Regions from separate parts of the Homo sapiens genome. Here all the other regions are linked to region 1. The links are contacts of gene promoters, found by promoter capture Hi-C in blood cells and fetal thymus (Javierre and others, 2016). All regions are on one chromosome and are shown on one strand. The core of a region is centred on a gene start or on the middle of the fragment in contact, and the rest is flanking DNA. Distances in the headings are between cores, read along the strand shown.

Region 1 (3,373 bases), core at 659-3,158:
TAATACAAGGCTGGGCACAGTGGCTCATGTCTGTAACGTAATCCAACCAGGCTTTGAGAGGCCACTGTGTTTACTGGGTAACACAGTGAGACCCCACCTCTACGAAAAATAAAAAAAATTAGCCAGGTGTGGCAGAGCGTGCCTGTAGTCCCAGCTACTTGGGACGTGGGAGGCTGAGGAAAGATGATCGCTTGAGCCCAGGAGGTCCAGGCTGCAGTGAGGTATAATCATGCCACTGCATCCAGCCTGGGCAACAGAGGGAGACCCTGTCTCAAAAAAATAAGTAACTCTAAATTTAAAGCAGCAAGATATTTACAATTTGCAATGATTGATCTGATTTCGCTAAGCAACCCAAACATACATTTTCACTCTTTATCTAAAACGTTTTAAAAATAAGGTTCTTACCAAATCCTTTGTTGAAAATATCTCTGGCAGCTTTGCCAAGGTCAGCATATGATGGAGGAATACACATTGCTGGTAGAAAAAAAACATTCCAGTGTTAATGTCTCTATTCTCCCACCTTCTATCCAAGAACAAGAGCATGACCCACTGCTGATATTAAAATTCAAGCAATCCCATTTGTTGGAATGTTTTTTATGCGGTCAGGAGCTACAATAGAACTATAACGACCCATAAAGGAGATACCACCAACGAATTATTTCTAAAACAGATAACCATGATTATACAAACTTGGGGAATTCGTTTCAAAACGGAAAAACAGTCTATTACCTACAGCCTCACTTCCTAGGACTGGACAAGTACAAAGAATCAAACAAGTATTTGTGTGTATGGATATTTATGTATCTGCCAAAATTCACTGAGATGAGCTGATTTAACTAAATTAGATAAAACCGAAACCTAAGACTAGGCCCTTTACCCTGATACGTCCTTTAATATCTTCGCTGAGGGGAAAACCAACACCCTGGAGTGGGAAGAGAATTTAATACTGGGAATTTAAATATTGAAACTTGGAAAAAATACTGCCATGTGTGTTTCACTCAAATGTCTACATCAACTAAATATCAAATAGCGCTTCAAACTTACTAATGTGACTCTCAAGTCCTCGGCCAATGCTGTGCTGCTTAAGGGCAGGCAATCTGAGCTCATTACACCAGCTCATTCATTCCACAAAGCACGTCCACGCCCTTAGGAGCACAAGTAATGACCTTGCGCTCTCACAAGAGGGACTGCTACTTCCTCTAGAAAAGTGATTGATCCGATCCTCCAAAGGCAGAATCCCCAATTAACAACTTTTTACTTCTATACGTCAAAGACATGTACAAAGGCTGAAAAGTCCATGCGGCCACAGACCAACTCCCCGGGCCTTGTTCCCCATTTGAAATCCAGCAGCCCAGCCCCTCCTCCGCAGAGGAGGTGGTCAGACGGTGGGGCGACCACCAAAAGCAGCCGAATTTCCAAGTTCTTGGAAAGATAGGGGGAAACAAACTGGGTTTCTGGTCGACAGGCTTCGACTCTCCGCCGCCCCATCCCGCAGAGATCCCAGCTTTACTTACGACGCGCGCAAGTCTGTCCGTGGGTCGCCATGGCGAGGCCGCGGGAAGAGGGGAATCTGCGGGAGGGACAAGAAGTGCGGTAAGCTGGGGTCAAAGGGCCAAAGGGAGATCCCGGGCAGAGAGGGGCGAGGGGCCGCGGGGCAGCGCGGCCATCTTAGGAAGCCAGGGCCGACTCCGAGTCCGGCGCGGGCCTCCGGCTTGGCCGCCGCGGCCTAGGCCCCTGGGTCGGCGTGAGGCGGGCGCGGCGGTACCTGGTGGTGTCCTGAGGGGGGCCGCCGCCACCGCTCCGCTAGCTGCTGAAGCCGCTTGGCACGCTCGCGGTCGGGCTGCAGCTCCAGCAGCTGGAGGGCGAAGTGAAGGAGACACCGTTCCGCCCGCCGCAACCCTGTCCTCTCCCAGACAGGACCCCGCCGCTGCCCCCGGGGCTGTCCGCCGCGCCTGTCCCTGCAGCGCAGCCCGCTGCCAACTCCAACCTGCTCCAGAGCGGCCACGTGGACCGACAGCGCCCCGGTCCTGCAGGTGGGCTGCCTCCGTCCGTCGGTGGGGATCCGGAAGGCAGAAGCTGCTGGGCCTTGGATCAGGCAGCTATCCGGGCAGCCTCAGAGGCGAGGGGGCGGGGAACGGCGGAGGCAGCGCGCTGGGGACCGCCTGGGAGGGGGATGGGGCGGAGGCCCCGCGCGAACGCGTCACGGACGGGGCGGGGCGTCGGCGCGTGGCCGGGGCGATAGGGCGCGGCTGCGCACCAGGGTCACGTAGATCTCTCCTACTCCCCTTACGCGCTGGTGCGGGTTCCCCCCCGAAACAAAGCCCTGCATAGGGTGCCTGCGGGGAGTCAGCTGAGCGTTACCCACGTCCATCCTAAGCTAGCGCAGCCTGCGCTTCTGAGGGACCGCTTCTCTTTCCCAGCCCAGGGAGAACGAGTGGGACACAGGGGCGCCACCTCCAGCCCCTCGCGCTCTTCTGCCCTCTTTTCCCACCTTGGTGTGACTGCCTTGCTGTGCTGGGTTGTGTGCCTGAGAGGCTTTTTGGGACTGCCTCTCCCTGAACAAATGTGAGCGGGTCCTAGCGTGCCCCACCCATTTCCACGCCGCCTTACGCTTTCTCTTCCGCGGCTCCTCCCCACTCAGGCATGGCACTGCTTCACACACGCACGGAGCCGGAGCTTGGCGAGGCAAGCCTGCTCCGGGCCCAACCTCCTCTGGATTATGGGCCTGGAGAAAATGTGGAATCATGCTGAGCAGGCGTTAGAATGCCGCACCCGAGTTCCCCGGGTGTGCAGGAAGGGTGACAGAGCTATTAGATAAAATGTATATGGGAGACCGTTAGTTTAGACTGACCTCCTGCATTAGGCCCATCAGACCAAACCAAAATGGGGTTACTCATGCTGAAGTTTCACACTACCACGCCAAAGCTAGGATCTTTATCTGACCTTCCAAGAAATCAGGAGAGAAACAGATGCTAGCCAGATCCCCAAACAGGCTGGGCGCGGTGGCTCACACCTGTAATACCAGCACTTTTGGATGCCGAGGTGGGCGGATCGCCTGAGCTCAGGAGTTCCGGACCAGCCTAGGCATAGTAATACCCTGCCTCTACCAAAAAAAAAAAAAAAAAAAAAAAAAATAGCCGGGCGTGGTGGCTGGCGCCTGTAGTCCCAGCTAATTGGGAGGCTGAGGAGGGAGGATCGCTTGAGCCTGGGAGGTTGAGGCTGTAGTAAGCTTAGATGGTGCCACTACTGCACTCCAGCCTGCCCGCTGGAGTAAGACCCTGTCTCAAAACAAAAATCCCCAAACAGGTCAGTTTTAGCTGGCATGAAGAAGTCCCGTGTTCTTTAACCTTTACAAGAAAAGTAACTTTCTACC
Region 2 (3,087 bases), core at 439-2,938, 1.5 Mb after region 1:
GCCTCCCGAGTAGCTGGGATTACAGGCGCGTGCCACCACACCCAGCTAGTTTTTGTATTTTTAGTAGAGACAGGTTTTCACCCTGTTAGCCAGGCTGGTCTCGATCTCCTGACCTCGTGATCCACCCACCTTGGCCTCCCAAAGTGCTGGGATCACAGGTGTGAGCCACCACGCCCGGCCAAAACCGAAGCATTAAAATCAATAAAAGTTGGCCAGGCACAGTGGCTCATGCCTGTAATCCCAGCACTTTGGAAGGCCAAGTCGGGCAGATCACTTGAGGTCAGGAGTTCATGACCAGCCTGGCCAACACGGTGAAACCCAGTCTCTACTAAAAATACAAAAACTAGCCGGGCATGGTGGCACACGCCTGTAATCCCAGCTACTTGGGAGGCTGAGGCAGGAGAAATCGCTTGAACCCGGGAGGCGGAGATTGCAATAAGCCGAGATCGTGCCACTGCACTCCAGCCTGAGCAATAGAGCAAGACGCCCTTTCAAAAAAATAAAAAATAAAGGACACCTGAAAACTCTAGCAAGGTAACAGATTAAAACCAAGTGCAGAACAGGCACCAAAACTTCTTCACATAATCTGAGGAAACAGTTCAAGAATCAGGGGCAAAGTTAGAGTTAGATTTCATGGAAAAAAATCATTCACCTCATCCCTCAAGCAGAAGACTATGAATATTCTAAATTCCAATGCACTTCTCCAACTCTCCTGTTTCTGCTCCCCTTACGATTGTTATGAATCTCAGCCACCATCAAAATTATTACAATCTTGCTCATCAACACAGGGATGAATTAGAGGGCCTTTTCTAAACAGGGTCCTTCCAAGAAAACTATCTCATCACATCTACTTTCAACAGCTGTATCATTCCAATTATCCTGTAGACAGAAGGGGCCCAGAAAGCAGGAGCACTCAGAGTTGCTGCAAAGGGAACAATGGACCTCTCCCCCTTTGCTAGAAGGGCCACCTTGACTATAGAAAAGGAGCTGATCCTGGTCTAAAACTCTTTAAACTCAAAGTTATCTCAATAGCTGTTCTTCCAAACCCTAAACCTTACAGAGGTAGGTCACTGACACTAAGTTTAAAATATGTCCTCTCCCTTTATGTTTCCAAAGCCGGGGGGAGGGGTAAAGAAAGGAGCTTCTTCTCCAGAAAATAATCCCCTCAAACACATTCAAGAGCTTGGAGTCAGACTGAAGTCTCGACTCCATTCTGGGTGGATAGTCGAGGGTGACAACCCAAGGGGGCGGGGCAAGCTTCCTAGAACTCTGAAAGTAGTCAAGCCATGGAGCCTCGGAGAGCCGAGGATCAAAACCGAGAAGCCAAGTCGGCTTCTAGGGCCACGTTAAGAGAGGGGGCTGCTCTGTTAAGCACAGAGACCAAACGTCTTGCACCTTTTAACAGGCTCGGGGCAGGAAGCAGGAGCCGGAATCTGGGCCGGGAGACGAAGGGATGGTCTAGGACCTGCTCCTGGATGGTGGATGCGTGAGGTGAGGGTCTCTACCCAGGCCCCGCCCCCAGGCTCCTCCCTTCTTTCTGAAACCGGACCCCAATCTGGCCAGTAATACCCTGACCTCTCCTTTGCTTTCCTACCCGCCAACCTCCCGATGCCACTCCTCACCCGGCTCCAGATCCAGGTTAGACTTCGTTCCTAACGTCAAGGCTCCCAGGCTCCACTTCCGGTTCCGAGGGGGCCGTCCCGTCACCCCCGGAAGTTCCTCCTCCACGCTTTAGGGCCGGGCCACTTCTTCTGCCACGTCTGCATTTCGGGGACCCGGATGCCGCGCATGCGCCTCTTTCATCTTCCCATCATGGCCGCCGCCTGTGCGCCTCTGCTGAGTCGTATGTATTTCCCTCCTGACATTTTTTTTCAGATGTTCCAGTCACTTTATGGCCTCACCAACAGAAATGAGATTAAAAAGAATTTGTCAAACTATCTTTAATAATGCCCCTTCACTCTGCCTGTGACGTATTAGTGACCTCTGAGCTAGAGTCTTGTAGTCACTTCCTGGTGACCCCTGACCCCGTTGATTTCCGTCCGCTAGGTTGCTCTCACCCATGGCGTTTGCTGGTTATGAGATTTGCGGAACGTGTGGTGGTGGTAAAGGGCACCAACTGTTGTCAACCTGCATGTGGGGGTCTGAGGTCTGGCTCTACAGCTTGTAAAATGGAAATAATAATGCCCAGAGGATGAAATTAGGCCACATAGGCCGCTTGGCATCATAGTAAGCACTCAGTAAAGGTCAATTGTTATTAACCATTTTTATACAGCGCCTTTGTTTAGGTGCAGAGCTTTATCAGAGCCAAAAGATCTCTGCGCTCTGTTGGAAAAGATAGTTCCTGCAGTAATTATTAGTACCCCATTTAATGGCTAAGTAATTATAGCTAACAGTGCTAGGATTTCTTTTTCATATATGACTTCATTTGAACTTTTCAGTACTATTTGTTGATTTCATAATTTTTCGAGCACTGCTGTTGAAACTGCCTTTGCAAAATTACAACTGAGGAAATTATGATAGTGGAAGAAATCAGACTTAACCGACTCCATCTTGCTTCTAACCTTTAAGCTGTCCTTATTCATTCCTGGGTGTAGGTGGAACTAACTTTGGGGAGGAATTCAGTTTATGGTTTGAAACAAAATTGATAATAGCCCCTTCCCGAAAAGACCCCCTTCTTGCCTGGGGACCAGTCTGTCTTTACAGGACTAACAAATTAGCTACAAGATTACAAATTACAGTTTAGGGGACATGCAGCCTCTCGCTCCAAGAGTCTGAACCTCCCCAAATTGCTTTTAGGAATAACATAACTATTGTAAAACCTAAGATTAGTGCTTGAGATGTTTTGCAGACCCTGCACTCATTGGATCAGCTGACTACCTAGACCAGTAACCTGGCTCAATCAGTTCTGCCATTCCACCCAGGAACAGAAAACAGCAAGAAAACCTCACTTTGACTCCCTGTGATTCCGTCTTCAACCTGACCAATCAGCACTCCCCGCTTCCCAAGCTCCTACTCGCCAAATTATCTTTAAGAACTCTGATCCTCAAATGCTCAGGGAGACTAATTTGTGTAATAATAAAACTCTGG
Region 3 (3,090 bases), core at 461-2,960, 2.0 Mb after region 1:
CCTGGGTGACAGAGAAAAGAAAAAGAAAACATTACATAATTTGGCTAGAGCATAATAATTTGATTTTCTGGTTTTTGAAAATTTGAGTTGCAATAAAAGGATATTTCAGTGTGCGATTTCAATTTTCCGTAGCAAATGTATATATAGAAAAATGTTAAAATAGATGTATTTGAATACCTTAAAAAATACAAGAAACTGGAAGAAAGATAATATTGCAAAGCATCTACATATATCCTAGGCCTTTTGTGTACAAGGTTATTTGTGACAATTGTAAGGTATTATGAAGGCAGGTAGGATTATCTCCGTTTTACAGATAGGGAAGCTGAGGCCTAGAGGTGGAAACTTGCCCAGTGATGTAAGATTCATCTCCCGGTTATGCCCTCCTGGAAAGCCCTTCCCAACATATTATGTTGTCCATAGAGGGAAAAATGAGCAAAGACAGATGGCTTAACTCTGGTGTGTGACTAAGATATAGGAAATTTATAGAGGAGGTTCTATCAATGTGCCGACTTACTTTGTGTTTTATGTTCTGAGAACGATTACCAGCCATCTCAAATTCTGTGGTTGTCAAAGCTCCCCTGGGGTTGTTGCTGGTTGGCCCCCACTTGCTTTGAGACTTTGATGCCAGGGCAGGTTGAGAGGAACTGACTTCAGCTGAGTTTGATCTTGGATCTGGGAAAGAGAAATGCTTTGAAAATCACGGCAACTCTGGGAAGTTTAAAAGATATTAATGTATCCTGGAGAGTTTGAGGCTTTGCAGAAACTTATTGGCAGAGCAGAATGATTCTGAAAAATGCTACATCAGTGAGGGGATATTTGATAAGGTATTTTCTGCCAACTCGGGTATTCACTTAGCATTGTTTATCCTTTAAGATATGTATACACATACTTCCTCTGTGAGTTTACCCTACTAACAAAGTTTTATCCCCAGCCTCAACCTTGCTTTGGGTCTCCAGGCCCAAGTTTCTCACCATCTCTTGGATGATTGCTCCAGCCCACTCTGCTGCCACCTGGGATCCAACATGTTCAAACCCAGCTGTGAACTTCACAGAGTATTAAAAGAAAGAGCCTTTGCTTCAGCAGTTTATGTTATTAAGACGGAGGCTTGGGTCATGTTATCTCTCTCCACCAATGTGTAAGGTGAAAGTCCTATTAGGTAAGAGTTTTTGGAAGACCCGTGTTTTGTGCTTTTTGGGTTTCAGTATAGGGTTTTTTCCTACAGGGCTAGAGGGAAAGTACCCCAGCATTTCCAACCAGTGGGGTGCAAAATTATTTGGGTCTACAGCTTTACCTATTCCTTTCAAGAACATTTTTGAAAAAACACATCTGTTAAGTTGAACCATGTGTAACTGCTGAATGCTGATGTTTGGCCGTTTTCTACTTAAAAAAATAGGCCAGCAGTTTGTAAATTCAAGCTAATATATGAACTTTTTGAAAAAGTTGTTCTTGGACACTAAAAGGTAAGACGGACGCCAGATTTCCAGAGCAAGGGGAGGAGAGACCCGAGCAACATCACTTCCCTGAAGACCTAGCTCCTGCGCGCGGCCGGGGACTGTGACTCCACATGCCGGCGTTACTTACCCGGGCCCGCGCCTGACTCGCCACACCTCATTTTGCGGCCGCCGTAAAGCGCGGATGCGCGGCGTGGCCACGCCCCTTCAGTGCTTGTGACGCAGGCGCCCTGGGCTTTTTGGGCGCGAAAAAGAAGCAGTCCTGGGTTGTACCCGGCGCAGCTGGGAGCGGCTGCTTCCTCCGGGGTCGTATCTCCGCCCGGCATGGGGCTGCTGGACCTTTGCGAGGAAGTGTTCGGCACCGCCGACCTTTACCGGGTGCTGGGCGTGCGACGCGAGGCCTCCGACGGCGAGGTCCGACGAGGCTACCACAAGGTGTCCCTGCAGGTACACCCGGACCGGGTGGGTGAGGGCGACAAGGAGGACGCCACCCGCCGCTTCCAGGTATGCAGGGTCCCGCCCCGAAGCCGACCGGCTGCGCGGGCCTCCCCCTAGCCTTTTGGCTACCGGGCCCCGCCCCGGGGGAGCGCGCTGAGCTCCGCTTGGCGCCTTCTGATCTTTATTTCTCGCGCCGCCGTTTCGGTGGGAGGAGCAGGGGTGATTTACGGATACTCTTTGCCCTCAGATCCTGGGAAAAGTCTATTCCGTTCTCAGTGACAGAGAACAGAGAGCAGTGTACGATGAGCAGGGAACAGTGGACGAGGACTCTCCTGTGCTCACCCAAGACCGAGACTGGGAGGCGTATTGGCGGCTACTCTTTAAAAAGGTAAAGGACTCTGGAGGTTTCTTTGTGACTGTTACCATCATTCAATCAACAAACCTTTATTGACTGCCTCTAAGATCTTGTATTTTGTGTTAATTTTGTAGGAATTAGGAATTTTGAGTTTGGCCTTGAAATACAGATACACGCACGCTTACTGAAACGGGCTTTAAATTTCCTGTTAATGTGATTGTTGCACTGAAAAGGGCCGATTTATTTTTTTTGCCGGATGCGCTTTATTTTACATATCCAAATGTAAGTCCTGATTCCGGATCACCTCTCACTCTTGGAAATTTCACTTAAATTTCCCTTCCCTGGTCCCTAGTTAGCAGTTAATGAAGATTGGATTTAAAAAGGAGGACTCCGGAGAAGCTTAGGCATAGAAAATCTGGTTCAATAATTTCAACTCAAGCAACTGTTGTATTGCAGCAATTCAACACCCAACTCTAGTTTTACTAACGTACGTTTTATTTAAAGTAAAATTCCCAAAGTTAAAGCAAATCTCCTTTATCATCAGATATCTTTAGAGGACATTCAAGCTTTTGAAAAGACATACAAAGGTTCGGAAGAAGAGCTGGCTGATATTAAGCAGGCCTATCTGGACTTCAAGGGTGACATGGATCAGATCATGGAGTCTGTGCTTTGCGTGCAGTACACAGAGGAACCCAGGATAAGGAATATCATTCAGCAAGCTATTGACGCCGGAGAGGTCCCATCCTATAATGCCTTTGTCAAAGAATCGAAACAAAAGATGAATGCAAGGAAAAGGAGGGTAAGATTTTGAATACTGTGGATTTATATTTTGACTGCTTCCAAAAA
Region 4 (3,248 bases), core at 564-3,063, 1.4 Mb after region 1:
GCCCTGTACTCTGGTTCAATCTTTTTGAACCACTACTGGAAACATTGTTCACATAAGCTGATTTTCATACGTTGCCTTGAATTATATTTTACATCTATTCAGCTTTTTCAGCTTGTCTTATCCCCCCAACTAGACTGTTGACACCTTAAATACAGAATGAGCCCATGTGATAATTTCCTCCTGCACCTGCTCAGCACCTAGTGCTACTTAATTGCCCACAGTAAGCAAGTAAGTAAATGATTTGATAGCTGCAGGGGACCCCAGCACTCTTACCTGTCATTCTCAGGAATCTCTTCCACATTGCCAAAGCCAGGTGTGGGCACTGGGCAGTCCATGTGTGAGGGCTGGGCAATGTGGGGCTCAAAGACGGGGCTGTCCCCGGGAGAGGCCGCGTGGGCTTTCTCGGCATCCAGCCGAGCCAGTTCGTAGTCACAGACGAAACACTCGAAGCCGTTGAGGTAGTTAGGCAGCAAAGGATCATTCACTCCCCACTCCCGATGCTTCAGACTATCCAGAAGAAATTGGTTGGTGATGCCCCCAGGTTGCTTGTATGCCAGGTATTTCATATACTCCTCATCATTCTTGTCCAGAAAGTCAATAAACTCTGCCAGCTTCTGAGGAGACTCAAAATCATCAATCAGGATGACGGAGTGATTGTTCGGCATCCAGTCCCTCACAGAGGGAGAACCGCGGTACACGGGCACAGCGCCCAGGTGCATGGGACGCCACAGTTTTTCTGTCATGTAGTCGTTACAGATGGCATTTTCCAGGGCCAAGTGGAACTTATAGCGGGACAAGAAAGCCAAGAGCTCTGGATCCTCGGTGGTGGCCGTGGCTGTGTCCTGTAGCCGCGCGGTAGGCAGCTCCCGATTCTGCAGGCATTTCCCGTAGGAGTCTACCTAGACCGGGTACAGTAAGGCTGTCATGAGGGTGCGGCCCTGGAGGCCTGGACACCTGGAGTCCTGGACACCTGGAGTCCTGGACACCTGGAGTCCTGGCCTCAACCCGCCCTCTCCTTTTCCTTCCCTCCGGCCCGCCCTCACTCACCGGGATGTGGCGCATGAGCTCGCGCACGTAGCGGTCCCGGTCCGCTGGCACGTCGCAGTGTGACTGCAGATAGAGCAGCGGCGCGTAGCCGCGGCGGCGCCACTCCGCGCGTTCCATGGGCGGAGGCACCGGGCGGCGCAGATAGGCGGTCCCGGGCAGCCACTGCAGCGACAGCGGGTAATCCGAGTGGCGACTGAAGGTGGAGGTAAGATTGAAGAGGCGGATGCCCGGGCCGTGGCTCAGCAAGAAGTTGTTGAGGGGCGACTCCTCGTGGAGGAGCGCCCAGCTCTGGTGCGCCAGGCGCGGCAGCGGGGCGGCCGACGCGCGGAAGTCTGTGCCGTAGAAGAGCAGCGCGCGCGTCCGCGAGTCCCTCAGCGCTCGGCGGTTCCGGGACGCCACGCACGCGCCGCGCGCACACTCGATGCGCTCCGAGTCTCCCGGGAAGTGGGGGAATAGCCCTGGGCTCCACCACAGCAGTACCGGCAAGTCCCCCGCCTCCTCCCTCCCTGGCCGCGGCGTCCCAGAGCTGCGCGTCACCCCCACTGCGCCCAGCGCCGAGGGCGGCCGGAAAACCGCGCCATCCCACGGTTCCGCCCACTCCGCCTCCCCGCCGGCCTCCCTCTCCGCTACGGACCCATGGCCGCTGGCTGCACAGACACTGAGCACCCCTAGAAGGACCAACACCACCCTAATGGGGCCGGCCGCCATGTCCACTCCGGCAGCCGGCGCCCCCTCGGCCAGCACCGACCCCGCCCAGCGGATAGTCGTGACCGGACGAGGCCCTACGCCACGGGGGCACGTGGCGCATGCGCAGCTCGCTCAGCCGACGGCCAGGACTAAAAGCAAAGTGAGCTTTCGGGAGTAAAGATGAGGCTAATGGTTACATCTTAATTTATTTTATTTCTTTACAAATTAAAGATGCATTGAAAAATAAACCAATGAAGAGAAATGAGAGGTCCAGAGCAGGGGCATCCCAGGTGGGGAGCAGGCAAGCCTGGCCACCATCAAGCCTAGCCCTTGTCCTGCCCCCAAGCCAGTTGGGGTTGGAAGATAACTGTCAGCCACTCAGTCAATACCAAAGCCCAAGCGGTGTCCCAGCAGGAGAGAACGGCGCTCCAGCTGCCTCTGCCTCTCTCCCCAACAACCCCGGGCCTGGAGAAGCAGTGTTTCTCGTGGGAGCTCAGAGTGGGATGTGAACTGGCTCTGTGAGGTATTGCAAGTTGATGACCAGGCTCCCTAGGCTCCCTACAGAACCATCCAGTGTTGGGGCCTCTCCAGCTGGAAAGGAAGCTGGTACCTCTACCAGATCTTAATATATTTTGCAACTCAGTTCTCCGGTCACCTCTGACAGTGTGCCTCTCTATCCACGGAGTGATCATCAATCATTGCAGGAGAGAGCGAGCGAGCAGTGAAAGCAGAGAAACTTGACTGCTAACCTCCAGGCCCAAGAAGGACTGACCACTTTTCTCTCCACCACCTATGGGCTATACCCCAGCTCTTGTGCACCTATATGTTTTATCCCTAATATAGGAAGTTGTGGATGACACTGAGCCCCCTGTAGTAACCTTAGGATCCCCACTCTTTCCTGCCTGCCCCTCTCCTCTTGGGAGACTGGTCCAAAGGGACACATAATATTGCCAGGGTCTGGGTGCCTCCAAACCCCCAATACCGAATCATATACAGTGAACTGAGAAGCTACATTCATTATGACAGGATTAGCAGGAAAAAGAGGGTAGAATGAGGGAACAGGGGCACCTTCCATCAGCAGGACATGACAGAGTGGCAGGATACTTGAGCCCAGAAAGAAGGTGTCTCCTTATATCTCCCCCTCCCCCCAGAGAGACTGAGGTCAGCTTACATAAGATATGTTACTGTCCCAATTTCTCTGACATCCTGGGGTGCTTTCTGGAAGCTAGCCTGGGCCCTATGCCATTTACCCACTTGCTTTAGCTCAGTAGCTGCCGAATCTCCTTGTGCATATGACAGAGAAAGTCCACATAAGATGCTCCCCCACTCAGACTCTTGTCTTCCACCAGGAAGTGCTTGAACAGCATCTCCATCTTGTCTTCCTGTTTCACCACGGTAAGCTACGGCCAGAATTCAGGGTTCATAAGGCAAGGCCAAAGGAAATTAAACATGCCCAGAAATCTCATTAGGCAGTCACTTACTCATTCCCCACCCAACCCCCACTTCTAGGTGAG
Region 5 (3,319 bases), core at 426-2,925, 1.3 Mb after region 1:
AAAGGAACCCAAGAAGCCAGAGATGTTAACAATGGCTGTGGAATGCTATGAAAGTATTTTACATTTGTAGCTACTTTTACAATTGAATAAAAATGTTTAGTTTAAAAAGCCAATTTTTTTATGGCTTCTAGAACTTAATTCACTTTCTGGATTTTGAAAAATAGTGCCTGAGGGCAAGAGGTGATAGTCAAAATATTTAACTATCAAGATACCCCAGTAGGACACTTTCGCCTGAGCCAGCTGGAGGAGGGAGGATCTCAGAGGCCTTTGCTGTGCCACAGGCATTAACCCTGTGGTTGCTGGATCATGAAGAAGTGGAGAGAGGCTGATGGCAGGGGCCACGCGGAGAGGATCTCAGGACAGCATCTGTTTAGTCACTGAGCAGAACCAGTGCCTGCTGCTGAGAATCAGTCCTGCAGCAGGGTCATCACCAGCTGGATCCCACCAGATCCTTCCCCACCATCTCCACCTACTCATTGCCCCCCAGAGTTCTCCACCACAATGGACTATTCCTCATTTCCTTAGAACACCTCACCTTTTCATGCCTCCATGAACTTCCCTACGCCTACAATGCCTTTCTTCTAGTTTGGCAAATTTCTGTGTGTATTTGAATGTCCAGGTAAAATATCACCTCTTCTGTAAAGTCGTCATTGACTTCACCAGGCAGAATCAATTGCTTCTTCATTATTTTTCCATGCATTTTATGCAGACTTAGTATAGCACTTTGCAAAGTGGTGAGCTCCTTGAGGACTAGGACTGCCTCATTTGTATCTAAAATAATGTCCTGTGTATGGGTACTTTAAAAAAATGACAAAGGGCCGGGCGCAGTGGCTCATGCCTGTAATCCCAGCACTTTGGGAGGCCGAAGCAGGTGGATCATGAGGTCAGGAATTTAAGATCGGCCTGGCCAAGACGGTGAAACCTCGTCTCTACTAAAAATAGAAAAAAATTAGTGGGGCATGGTGGCAGGCACCTGTAATCCCAGCTACTCGGGAGGCTGAGGCAGAGAATTGCTTGAACCTGGGAGGCAGAGATTGCAGTAAGCCGAGATTGCGCCACTGCACTCCAGCCTGGGCGACAGAGCGAGATTCCATCTCAAAAAAAAAAAGAAAGAAAGAAAGAAATGACAAAGATTGTTGAATGAATCTCAATGTGACTGAAACCTCAAAAAGAGACCTAGAACATCCTTTTTTTTTTTTTTTTTTTTTTGAGATGGGGCCTCTTTATGTTGCCCAGGCTGTTCTGGAACTCCTGAACTCAAGGGATCCTCCCACTTTGGTATCCCAAAGTGCTGGAATTTACAGATGTGAGCCACTGCACCTCGCCTAGACCATCTTTTCCCTCAATTTGTTATTAAAACTCAGCAACCTCACTGACACATGCTATGCCATGGATAAAACTTGAAAACATCATGTTAAGAGTGAAAGAGGCCAGTCACAAAGAACCACATATTATAGGATTCTATTGATATGAAATGCCCAGAATTGGCAAACCCACAGAGAGGACAGAAAGTAGTAAATTAGTGATTGCCTAGGGCTGAGGGGGTTGGGGAGAAAAACGGAGTGATTGTGAGTGGGTACAGGATTTCTTTGTGAGGTGATGAAGTGTTCTAAAATTGATTGTGATGTCTCACAATTCTGTGAATCTACTAAAAACCATTGCATTGTACACTTCAAATGGTGCCAGACGTGGTGGTATGAGCCTGTAATTCCAGCCACTCAGGAGGCTGAGGTGGGAGGATCACTCTGGCCTAGGAGTTTGAGATCAGCCTGGGTGACAGAGCAAGACCCTGTCTCTAGAAAAGAGAAAGAATAAATGGGTAAGTTGTATGATATATGAATTATATCTCAATAAAACTGATTTTTTTTCTTTAGAGACAGGGTCTTGCTCTGTCACCCAGGCTGGAGTGCAGTAGTGCAATCATAGCTCACTGCAGCCTCGAGCTCCTGGGCTCAAGCAATCCTCCCGTCTAGGCCTCCCACAGTATTAGGATTACAGGTGTGAGCCATTGCACCTAGCCCAGAATTGATTTTTAAAAAACACCTCAGCAACTCCTCTTACTTCATCTAATTCAAAGGGAGGGCTTAAATGTTTCCTTCTTGGAAGGAAGGTGGACCCAATGGGAGTGAGTATGGAGGGGTATAGGCAGGGGTGCTGCTGTGGTCAGCTTGGGAAAGATAGGGCATACGTGGAAAGCAGGCTGAGTGCTGTTAATATAATGGGCTGAGAATACTTCAGAAAGAGGGGTTCTGGTGAAAACGGAAACCACTTCAATGAAACCAGATTGCAGCAGAAAGGCTGAGGTTACTGTGAGAACAGTGAAGTTTTACTTTGAAACCAATGGCTGAGTGTGGTCTCCTCATCTGGCCTGGGAATCTTCTAGGAGGAAAGAATTGTTATCTAGGAGAGGATTAAAATTCTGATAGATGAGGCTGGGCGCAGTGGCTCACGCCTGTAATCCCAGCACTTTGGGAGGCCGAGGTGGGTGAACCACGAGGTCAGGAGTTTGAGACCAGCCTGGCCAACATGGTGAAACCCCCGTCTCTACTAAAAATACAAAAATTAGCCGGGTGTGGTGGTGCACGCCTGTAATCCCAGCTACTCAGGAGGCTGAGGCAGGATAATAGCTTGAACCTGGGAAGCAGAGGTTGCAGTGAGCCGAGATGGGCCACTGCACTCCAACCTGGGCGACAGAGCAAGACTGTGTATGGAAAAAAAAAAAAAAATTCTGGGCTGGGCGGGTGGCTTACAACTGTAATCCCAGCACTTTGGGAGCCCAAAGCGGGTGGATCACAAGGTCAAGAGACCGAGACCATCCTGGCCAACATGGTGAAACCCCGTCTCTACTAAAAATACAAAAATTAGCCGGGCGTGGTGGCATGTGCCTGTAATCTCAGCTACTCAGGAGGCTGAGGCAGGAGGATCACTTGAACCCGGGAGGCGGAGGTTGCAGTGAGCCAGGATTACGCCACTGCACTCCAGCCTGGCAACAGAGTGAGACTCCGTCTCAAAAAAAAAAAAAAAATTCTGATAGCTGTTGCCTAGAAACCCAGCAACCATAAAGTAGAAAGCTTGAAAGGGGGGCTGCTCTCCTTTTGCCCTAGTTGGACTCTCCTGAGAGGTGATAAATCCTAGTACCGCGCATGAGGACTCTGGAGATGGCTGCCTGGGTTCGAACCCTGACTCTTTGCATTTGGAGCTGCATTGCCTCGTGCAAGTCACTCAATCTGTCTGTGCCTCCATTTTCTCTACTGTTAAATGGGGCTAGTGATACTACCTTCCTCATAGGATTCTTGGGAGGATTAACTCAGACAACACA
Region 6 (2,961 bases), core at 58-2,557, 1.3 Mb after region 1:
ATTCTAAGTGCCTTAGACCATTTAATGCTGACAGGCCTATGAGGTAGGTAATATTATTGTTCCCAGCCGGGCGAGGTGGCTCATGAAGCCACCTCTGTACTACATACATACTTCATTACTTCATGTATGTACTACATACATACTTCATTACTACAACATAATGAAGCCCCGTCTGTACTAAAAATACAAAAAAATTAGCCGAGCGTGGTGGCGCGCGCCCATAATCCCAGCTACTCGGGAGGCTGAGGCAGGAGAATCGCTTGAACCCAGGAGGTGGAGGCTGCAGTGAGCCAAGATCGCACCACTGCACTCCAGCCCGGGCAACAGCGCAAGACTCCGTCTCAAAAAAAAGATTCAGTGACTTACCCCAGGTCACAGAGCTGATCAGTGAGTTGCCTAGAAATCCAATCCAGGCAGTTTGATGCAAGTTCACGCTTAGACAGCTATGAGATAGCTCTACTGCCCCTTATACCAGTCAATGCATCACTACAAAATGTGGTAGGTGCCAGAAAATAAAAGTACGAGGGTGCCTTGCAAGAAAATGGGGATTTCCCCTTTCTTCCACTTTCTCTTCTAGCCCCCACTGCACAAAGCCTTTTCAAGTCTTCCTACTTCACCCCTTTCATTTCTGGCCGGATAGAGAATACTCTTTCATCTCTGCAGTTATGGTGCAGGAAGGCAGAGTCCTACCTGTATCCTTGCCCCTGGCCTGGTCTCCCTGATCAACCCGCGCCTGAAGGGTTTCTTTCTAATAATGGCCCTGGTGCTTGCGCAAGTCTAGACTGTCAGCTCCCAGAGGGAAGGCGGCTGGCAGCTGGCTCTGCGCAGGCTGGGGGCGCCTCCCGGGCGTGCAGCCTGGCACAGGCTCCTTGACCTTGGCTCTCTCCCCACGTGCTAGGAGCCCGGTTGGGGGCTCGGGACCCGCGTGTAGGACCCGTCCAGAGAGGTCAGTGGTCCAGACTCCTACACTCCTAACACATGCACCCTCGCATGCACGTTCCCGAGCCCGCGCGGGGTCCGCCCCGGGACAAGCCCATAAGTCGCGAACCTTCCAGCTCCGTCTGCCCAGACAGGTGGCCCGGAGCGGGGACCCCCTCCCCTCGGCTGCCCCGCGCGCCTGGCCCAGCGAGGGCGGCTCCGGGGCGGGGCGGGGCCGGCGGCGGGAGGCCCCTCCCCGGGGGCGGGCCGGGGGCCGGGCGGGGGGGGGGACTGGCGGGGCCTGGGGGCGGGGCGGGGCGGGCGGCGCGGGGGTGTCCCTCCCTCCCTCGCTCTCCCCGGTAAAGTCTCGCGGTGCTGCCGGGCTCAGCCCCGTCTCCTCCTCTTGCTCCCTCGGCCGGGCGGCGGTGACTGTGCACCGACGTCGGCGCGGGCTGCACCGCCGCGTCCGCCCGCCCGCCAGCATGGCCACCACCGCCACCTGCACCCGTTTCACCGACGACTACCAGCTCTTCGAGGAGCTTGGCAAGTACGGCCCGCCCGCCGCGGTCCCCTGCCTGCCCTGCCGCCCGGGAGCTATGCGGCTTCTCGCCCCGCCCCCCGGCCCTGCACCGGCCGCTGCGGCTCCCCCTCGGCCGCCCCACCCCCGCCTTTCCCGCCCGCCGCCTTCGGTCCCCGCGCCCCCCGCGCACTGCCCCGCATCCCCCTCCGCGCCCTGCAGCAACTGGCGGGGCCGCTGCTCCCCACGCGCCGCCGCGGACACCGCAGACCCCGGACCGCTCCCGGGTGCCCTCCAGCCCCGCCCCTCCGCACCCTTCAGGCGCCCCCCTCCCGACCACCTCCCAACGCTGCCCGGTTGCTCACTCCGCACCCTGAACCCAGGTCCCACGCGCCTCGCACTCAGGACCCTCCCCAGCCCTGCAGCCCTAGCTCTGCTGCGGAGCCCGGGCGTGGGGGGGCTGTTTGGCGCCCGGCCCCGCCCCCCGCGGGTGCCGCTCCAGGCTCCCAGCCCCGCGGCTGGGCAGTGCTGCGGCACCCCCGTCCCCTCCCCCCACCCCTGCAGTGGTCCCGGGAGCCGCGCCGCAGCCTCAGCATCCCCCTCCCCTCCGCACTGAGCTGGCCGCTGCAGCAGCCCCGGCCCCCCACCCCCACCCGCGGCGCCGAGCCCGGCCACTGCAGCCCCCGCCCCGCCCGCCCCCCCAGACGTTTCCAGAGCTCAGAGTGCGAGCTCCCGTTTGACGGGGACGTCAAGGAAAATAGCATGGGAAGGGGAGTTCTTGATGTCTGACTGTGTCCTCTCTTCCCTTGCTGTCAGTTGAGCCGGGATGCAGTGAGATGAAACCGGCTGTGGGGGGGTTTGAGCCTCACTTTGCCCCATGGTTGAGGGAGATTTCTCTTTCAGGGGATGATACCCTCTTTTTAATCTTTCCTTCCCCGACCTTCAACTGTTCCTGCTGAGAGAAGGGCAGGGTCTCTCTGCTCCCTTCTGCCCTGGTTCTCTTGGCCGGGACCGCAGGGCTGTCTGAGATGCAGCAGGTGTGTGTTTTCAGCATCGCCCACCCGCTCCTGATGTGCAGCCTGAGGTGGAGGCTGTTGCCTTGCCCAGGGACTGGATGAGGGGGTGGGAGCGCGGCACGCCACCCACATCTGTTCAGTGTCCTGCGGTGGCCGCGTCCTTTTGCCTCATGTTGGATGGTGGTGGTCACAGCGCCGGTGTGTGTGCATGTACGTGAGTGTGACTAGAGGTCTGGTGGTGGGAGCATCATCGTCCCCAGACTTGAAGTGTGTCTGTGTCACTCTGCCCTGCTCCGTGTCCCAGTTCTTTTCCCCTTCTCCCTCCAGGGGTGCTTTCTCTGTGGTCCGCAGGTGTGTGAAGAAAACCTCCACGCAGGAGTACGCAGCAAAAATCATCAATACCAAGAAGTTGTCTGCCCGGGGTGAGTGTTCCCTGTCTTGACCTCTTCCTGAGGGTGCCTCCAGGGGCCATGGTTTCTTTTGAGGAAGCCCCAGGAATTGGGGGTTGTG
Region 7 (3,085 bases), core at 123-2,622, 1.7 Mb after region 1:
CAATGGGTCCTAAAATAGGGTGCCTTTCCTTTCTAGTATTGCTGCTAGGATGTTTCCCATCCCTTTCCTGACAGAGCATTCAGTACTCAGTACATTATACACTTCCTTCCTCCCCTCCTTAGGAAGATTTTCTGGGGATTCAAGCTCTTCTTACAGACTCACTCCTGATCAATGTACTCCAGGTGCCTTCCCTCTATCTTATAAGTTTGTGACGTGCCTCCTGTCCCTTCCTTCCTCTCCTTCCGTGGGGGCCTCTCCCTTTCCCTTCCCCTGTGGTGTTATGGCCCTTCCATGCCAGAAAGATCCATTTTCACCTGTGCCTCACTCCCGAGACTCTTCCCTCTAAAAAATAGCTTGTGGGTTCCCTTTTTGGAAAAAATCCATTGTTGGGTCTTTCCCTTCCTCTTTTCCTGGGGTCTCAGGATAGAAATTGACACAAAGAAGAGGTAGAAAGGTACTCCTTGGACCTTCGGACTACTACTTACTTACCACCATGCATTATGAACAGATTCTGAGCACATGTATTATTGAGCAGGAGGATGGGCAGGAATTGGTTGTTCCATCCCACTTGGATCCTGCACCATCAAGATATATAGAGCTTAGTGGATATGCTGGTCCCTGTCCATGATTCAACATATCTCCTGGTGTCGTGGACACACTCATCTAATAATTTTTGATGAACAGTCAGTTCTTGCCCCTCTACCCCCTTTCCCATGAGTGTCAGTCACCGTGGTCTCTATAAAGGTTCCATAAGTCACCTGGGCCCAGATTCTGTGCATGTGCAGAAATAAGGAATTAATTTCCAATTCCCTATTTACTCCTCTGCCTTCCAGGAGGAGGTTGTATCCTTTTCAGGTGAATTCTTCAGATTCTTTGCACATCTCTTGGTGTCATCCCCTTTATTCCCCTTACCTGTTTTGACAAACTATGGCGCCTAAATTGCTCTAGCTGCAGTCTTATTCTGTGCTTTCAGACTCTTGACAATTCCAGACTCTAAACACAAAGGCCAGAATTCTCTTTCAAACTCCATTTTGGATGGTCCCTTCTCCACTCTAGAACCTACAATGCTTCCTCTATTCTCTGGTCCCCTACCAACCCTTCAGTATTCAGATCTGGTAGCTAAATCGTTATACATTTCTCTATTAGTAGGAGATCCTGAGGTTTAATCACGTCTTCTCAGTTTACTGGGAATGCCATGAGAGCGGGTGTGTTTCCTCGCAGTCGTTCGATCGCAGCACCTCCTCATTCTTCATTCTGCATGCAAAGAATTTTAACCTGATCCCTTGGCCTCGTCCTGTTTCTCTCCTAGCTTCAGTAATTTTGCCCAAGTCCCTAGAGCCTACCCCGCCCCCACCCCCGCACGCGCAGTGCATGCCGGTCTTAGCCCCTCTGTAGGGAAAGAGGGTCCGCCATGTTCCCCGGCGGCGCCGCCGCTTGGCTCTGGTAGCCGCCGCCCCCGCCCCCAACCCCGCCCGGCCCAGAGCCTAGCCGAGCCCCGGGCCCAGCATGGCCGCCCCGGAGCCGGCCCGGGCTGCACCGCCCCCACCCCCGCCCCCGCCGCCCCCTCCCGGGGCTGACCGCGTCGTCAAAGGTGAGAGGTGGACGAAACCCTGGGGGCCTGGCCTGAAGAGCTAGCTGTGTGTGAGGGCGGGCGGGAGACCGTCCCCTCGGGAGTGGGCCCGGAAGGGCGGGCGAGTGACTGGCTGCCTCCCTTGGGGAGTGGCCCCTGGGCGGGCCCCTGCTGGGCAGGGCTGAGTCGGTGGCAGTGGTTCCGCGGTCTCCCGGTTGCTTTCAGGCCGGGGCGGAGGTTTTGCTTCCGTGGCTTCCTAGCCCAAGGGGTGAGGCTGTTAGCTGCAGTGAGCCCGTTTTCTCTTCACTCGGCCTGTCAAAGCGGCGCAGGGGCCGCGATTAGCTTCCTGCCCCGCGACAGCTGCACTTCTGGCTTGCCGGGGCGAACCGAGGGGCTCGGAGACCTTCAGCCACGCGAGGCCCGCCAGTGAGCAGTCAGAAATCACCTCGGCTTTGGCCCACGCCTGCTCCCCGGTGACAGTCGTCCGCCCTATCCGCGTCTAGCTGGCGACAACCGCAGGGGTTCACTTTTGGCCGTCAGGTGCCACCCGGAGCAGAAATTAGGGGAACCTTGTGGGATTGGATCACGGTGAAGGGTCGGGGCAGGAATTGGAAGGCCAGCCTTTATAGTGCAGAAAGGGAGAAAAAGCAGCATAAACGAAAAAAAAAATTCTTGTGGATAGCAAGTATTTACTTAGAAAACCATCAACACTTTGGTCAAAAGGAGTTACCCCTCCCTTACAAACACACACCCACACATTCATCCTAGACGAAAAAGTTAAATGTTTCTCAGCCAGGGCAGAATTTATGGATGTTTACCCACAACAGGTCAGCAGATTAATTTAAAATAGAGAAATTGAGGGCTAATTGAGAGTTGCTTAAGATTCCAAGCTTCCTGGGAGAGCCTACCAACCTCAAACACTGCTGTGGAGGTGAAAAACAATTGAAATGATTCTCTTTACCATGTAGCTTGATTGATAAATTGAAATCGTAGAATGAACTTTTCCTTATTTGTATTGTATTTATTTTTAAAATATAGGTACTTTTGTTTTCATTCAGCTTCTCAAATACACTGGCACAGTATTTAAACACCGTTAGCCTACTTTTTGAAATCTGACTCATATGTTTCCATTAAAATATTTAAAAACAAGGAAACCTTTTTTCTTTTTTTTTTTTAATTAAAAATTTTCAACCTGAGCCTTCTTCGGTTCTTAAAAGAATAATACTAATTTGGCCTGGCGTGGTGGCTCACATCTGTAATCCCAGCACTTTCGGATGCTGAGGCAGGCGGATCGCTTGAACTCAGGAGTTGGAGACCAGCCTGGGCAACATGGCGAAACCTTTTCTCTACCAAAAATACAAAAAATAAAAATTAGCCGGGCATGGTGGCGCGCCCCTGTAGTCCCAGCGGATCGGGAGGCTGAGGCACGAGAATCACTGGAGCCCGAGAGGCAGAAGTTGCAGTGAGCCGAGATTTGCGCCAGTGTGCTCCAACCTGGACGACAGAGCCAGACCC

What was found. Contacts are between HindIII fragments. The CHiCAGO score rates a contact against its expected background, and 5 or more counts as called.
Region 2: the fragment with the promoter of SEC24C here is called in contact with the fragment with the promoter of VDAC2 in region 1 in 1 of 17 cell types (total CD8 T cells); the score reaches 6.4 in total CD8 T cells.
Region 3: the fragment with the promoter of DNAJC9 here is called in contact with the fragment with the promoter of VDAC2 in region 1 in 1 of 17 cell types (total B cells); the score reaches 7.6 in total B cells.
Region 4: the fragment with the promoter of POFUT4 here is called in contact with the fragment with the promoter of VDAC2 in region 1 in 1 of 17 cell types (neutrophils); the score reaches 8.7 in neutrophils.
Region 5: the fragment with the promoter of C10orf55 here is called in contact with the fragment with the promoter of VDAC2 in region 1 in 5 of 17 cell types (M0 macrophages, neutrophils, non-activated CD4 T cells and 2 more); the score reaches 6.4 in M0 macrophages.
Region 6: the fragment with the promoter of CAMK2G here is called in contact with the fragment with the promoter of VDAC2 in region 1 in 2 of 17 cell types (neutrophils and fetal thymus); the score reaches 6.0 in neutrophils.
Region 7: the fragment with the promoter of PPP3CB here is called in contact with the fragment with the promoter of VDAC2 in region 1 in 1 of 17 cell types (non-activated CD4 T cells); the score reaches 5.0 in non-activated CD4 T cells.

Annotation. Positions count from the first base shown.
Region 1 is chr10:75,209,331-75,212,703 of GRCh38, reverse strand. It overlaps VDAC2 (voltage dependent anion channel 2), which reads right to left and starts at 1,908. Exons shown (of 10, transcript NM_001391963.1): 1 at 1,766-1,908; 2 at 1,515-1,570; 3 at 406-474. The coding sequence starts at 1,545. RefSeq lists silencers at 1,635-2,004, 2,025-2,334 and enhancers at 1,979-2,273, 2,004-2,585. The HindIII fragment of the contact is 6,617 bases long and covers 1-3,231 here.
Region 2 is chr10:73,742,973-73,746,059 of GRCh38, reverse strand. SEC24C (SEC24 homolog C, COPII component) reads right to left here and starts at 1,688. Exons shown (of 23, transcript NM_198597.3): 1 at 1,623-1,688. LOC124902453 (a long non-coding RNA gene) reads left to right here and starts at 1,795. Exons shown (of 2, transcript XR_007062195.1): 1 at 1,795-1,843; 2 at 2,849-3,087. RefSeq lists enhancers at 1,173-1,739, 1,640-2,069, 1,740-2,307, 1,147-2,346. The HindIII fragment of the contact is 9,340 bases long and covers 1,260-3,087 here.
Region 3 is chr10:73,245,875-73,248,964 of GRCh38, reverse strand. DNAJC9 (DnaJ heat shock protein family (Hsp40) member C9) reads left to right here and starts at 1,710. Exons shown (of 5, transcript NM_015190.5): 1 at 1,710-1,955; 2 at 2,137-2,277; 3 at 2,789-3,043. The coding sequence starts at 1,776. DNAJC9-AS1 (DNAJC9 and MRPS16 antisense RNA 1) reads right to left here and starts at 1,598. Exons shown (of 4, transcript NR_038373.1): 1 at 1,582-1,598; 2 at 515-672. It overlaps MRPS16 (mitochondrial ribosomal protein S16), which reads left to right. Exons shown (of 3, transcript NM_016065.4): 3 at 1-116. RefSeq lists enhancers at 1,464-1,803, 1,069-2,268 and a silencer at 2,004-2,153. The HindIII fragment of the contact is 5,448 bases long and covers 1-2,645 here.
Region 4 is chr10:73,770,841-73,774,088 of GRCh38, reverse strand. It overlaps POFUT4 (protein O-fucosyltransferase 4), which reads right to left and starts at 1,813. Exons shown (of 3, transcript NM_173540.3): 1 at 1,048-1,813; 2 at 274-899. The coding sequence starts at 1,755. SEC24C (SEC24 homolog C, COPII component) reads right to left here. Exons shown (of 23, transcript NM_198597.3): 23 at 1,928-3,134. The coding sequence ends at 2,994. RefSeq lists enhancers at 502-551, 396-926, 1,212-1,321, 1,912-2,091 and a silencer at 1,532-1,581. The HindIII fragment of the contact is 15,546 bases long and covers 1-3,248 here.
Region 5 is chr10:73,921,133-73,924,451 of GRCh38, reverse strand. It overlaps C10orf55 (chromosome 10 putative open reading frame 55), which reads left to right and starts at 1,675. Exons shown (of 5, transcript NR_160938.1): 1 at 1,675-1,819. RefSeq lists an enhancer at 2,985-3,319. The HindIII fragment of the contact is 3,151 bases long and covers 1-3,073 here.
Region 6 is chr10:73,872,901-73,875,861 of GRCh38, reverse strand. It overlaps CAMK2G (calcium/calmodulin dependent protein kinase II gamma), which reads left to right and starts at 1,307. Exons shown (of 23, transcript NM_001367534.1): 1 at 1,307-1,465; 2 at 2,779-2,873. The coding sequence starts at 1,401. RefSeq lists an enhancer at 585-694 and silencers at 915-1,194, 1,205-1,364, 1,425-1,594, 1,855-1,914. The HindIII fragment of the contact is 9,701 bases long and covers 1-2,961 here.
Region 7 is chr10:73,494,311-73,497,395 of GRCh38, reverse strand. It overlaps PPP3CB (protein phosphatase 3 catalytic subunit beta), which reads left to right and starts at 1,372. Exons shown (of 14, transcript NM_021132.4): 1 at 1,372-1,591. The coding sequence starts at 1,507. PPP3CB-AS1 (PPP3CB antisense RNA 1) reads right to left here and starts at 1,644. Exons shown (of 5, transcript NR_132104.1): 1 at 1,579-1,644; 2 at 913-1,254. RefSeq lists enhancers at 1,166-1,355, 1,846-2,305 and a silencer at 1,436-1,785. The HindIII fragment of the contact is 5,148 bases long and covers 1-2,462 here.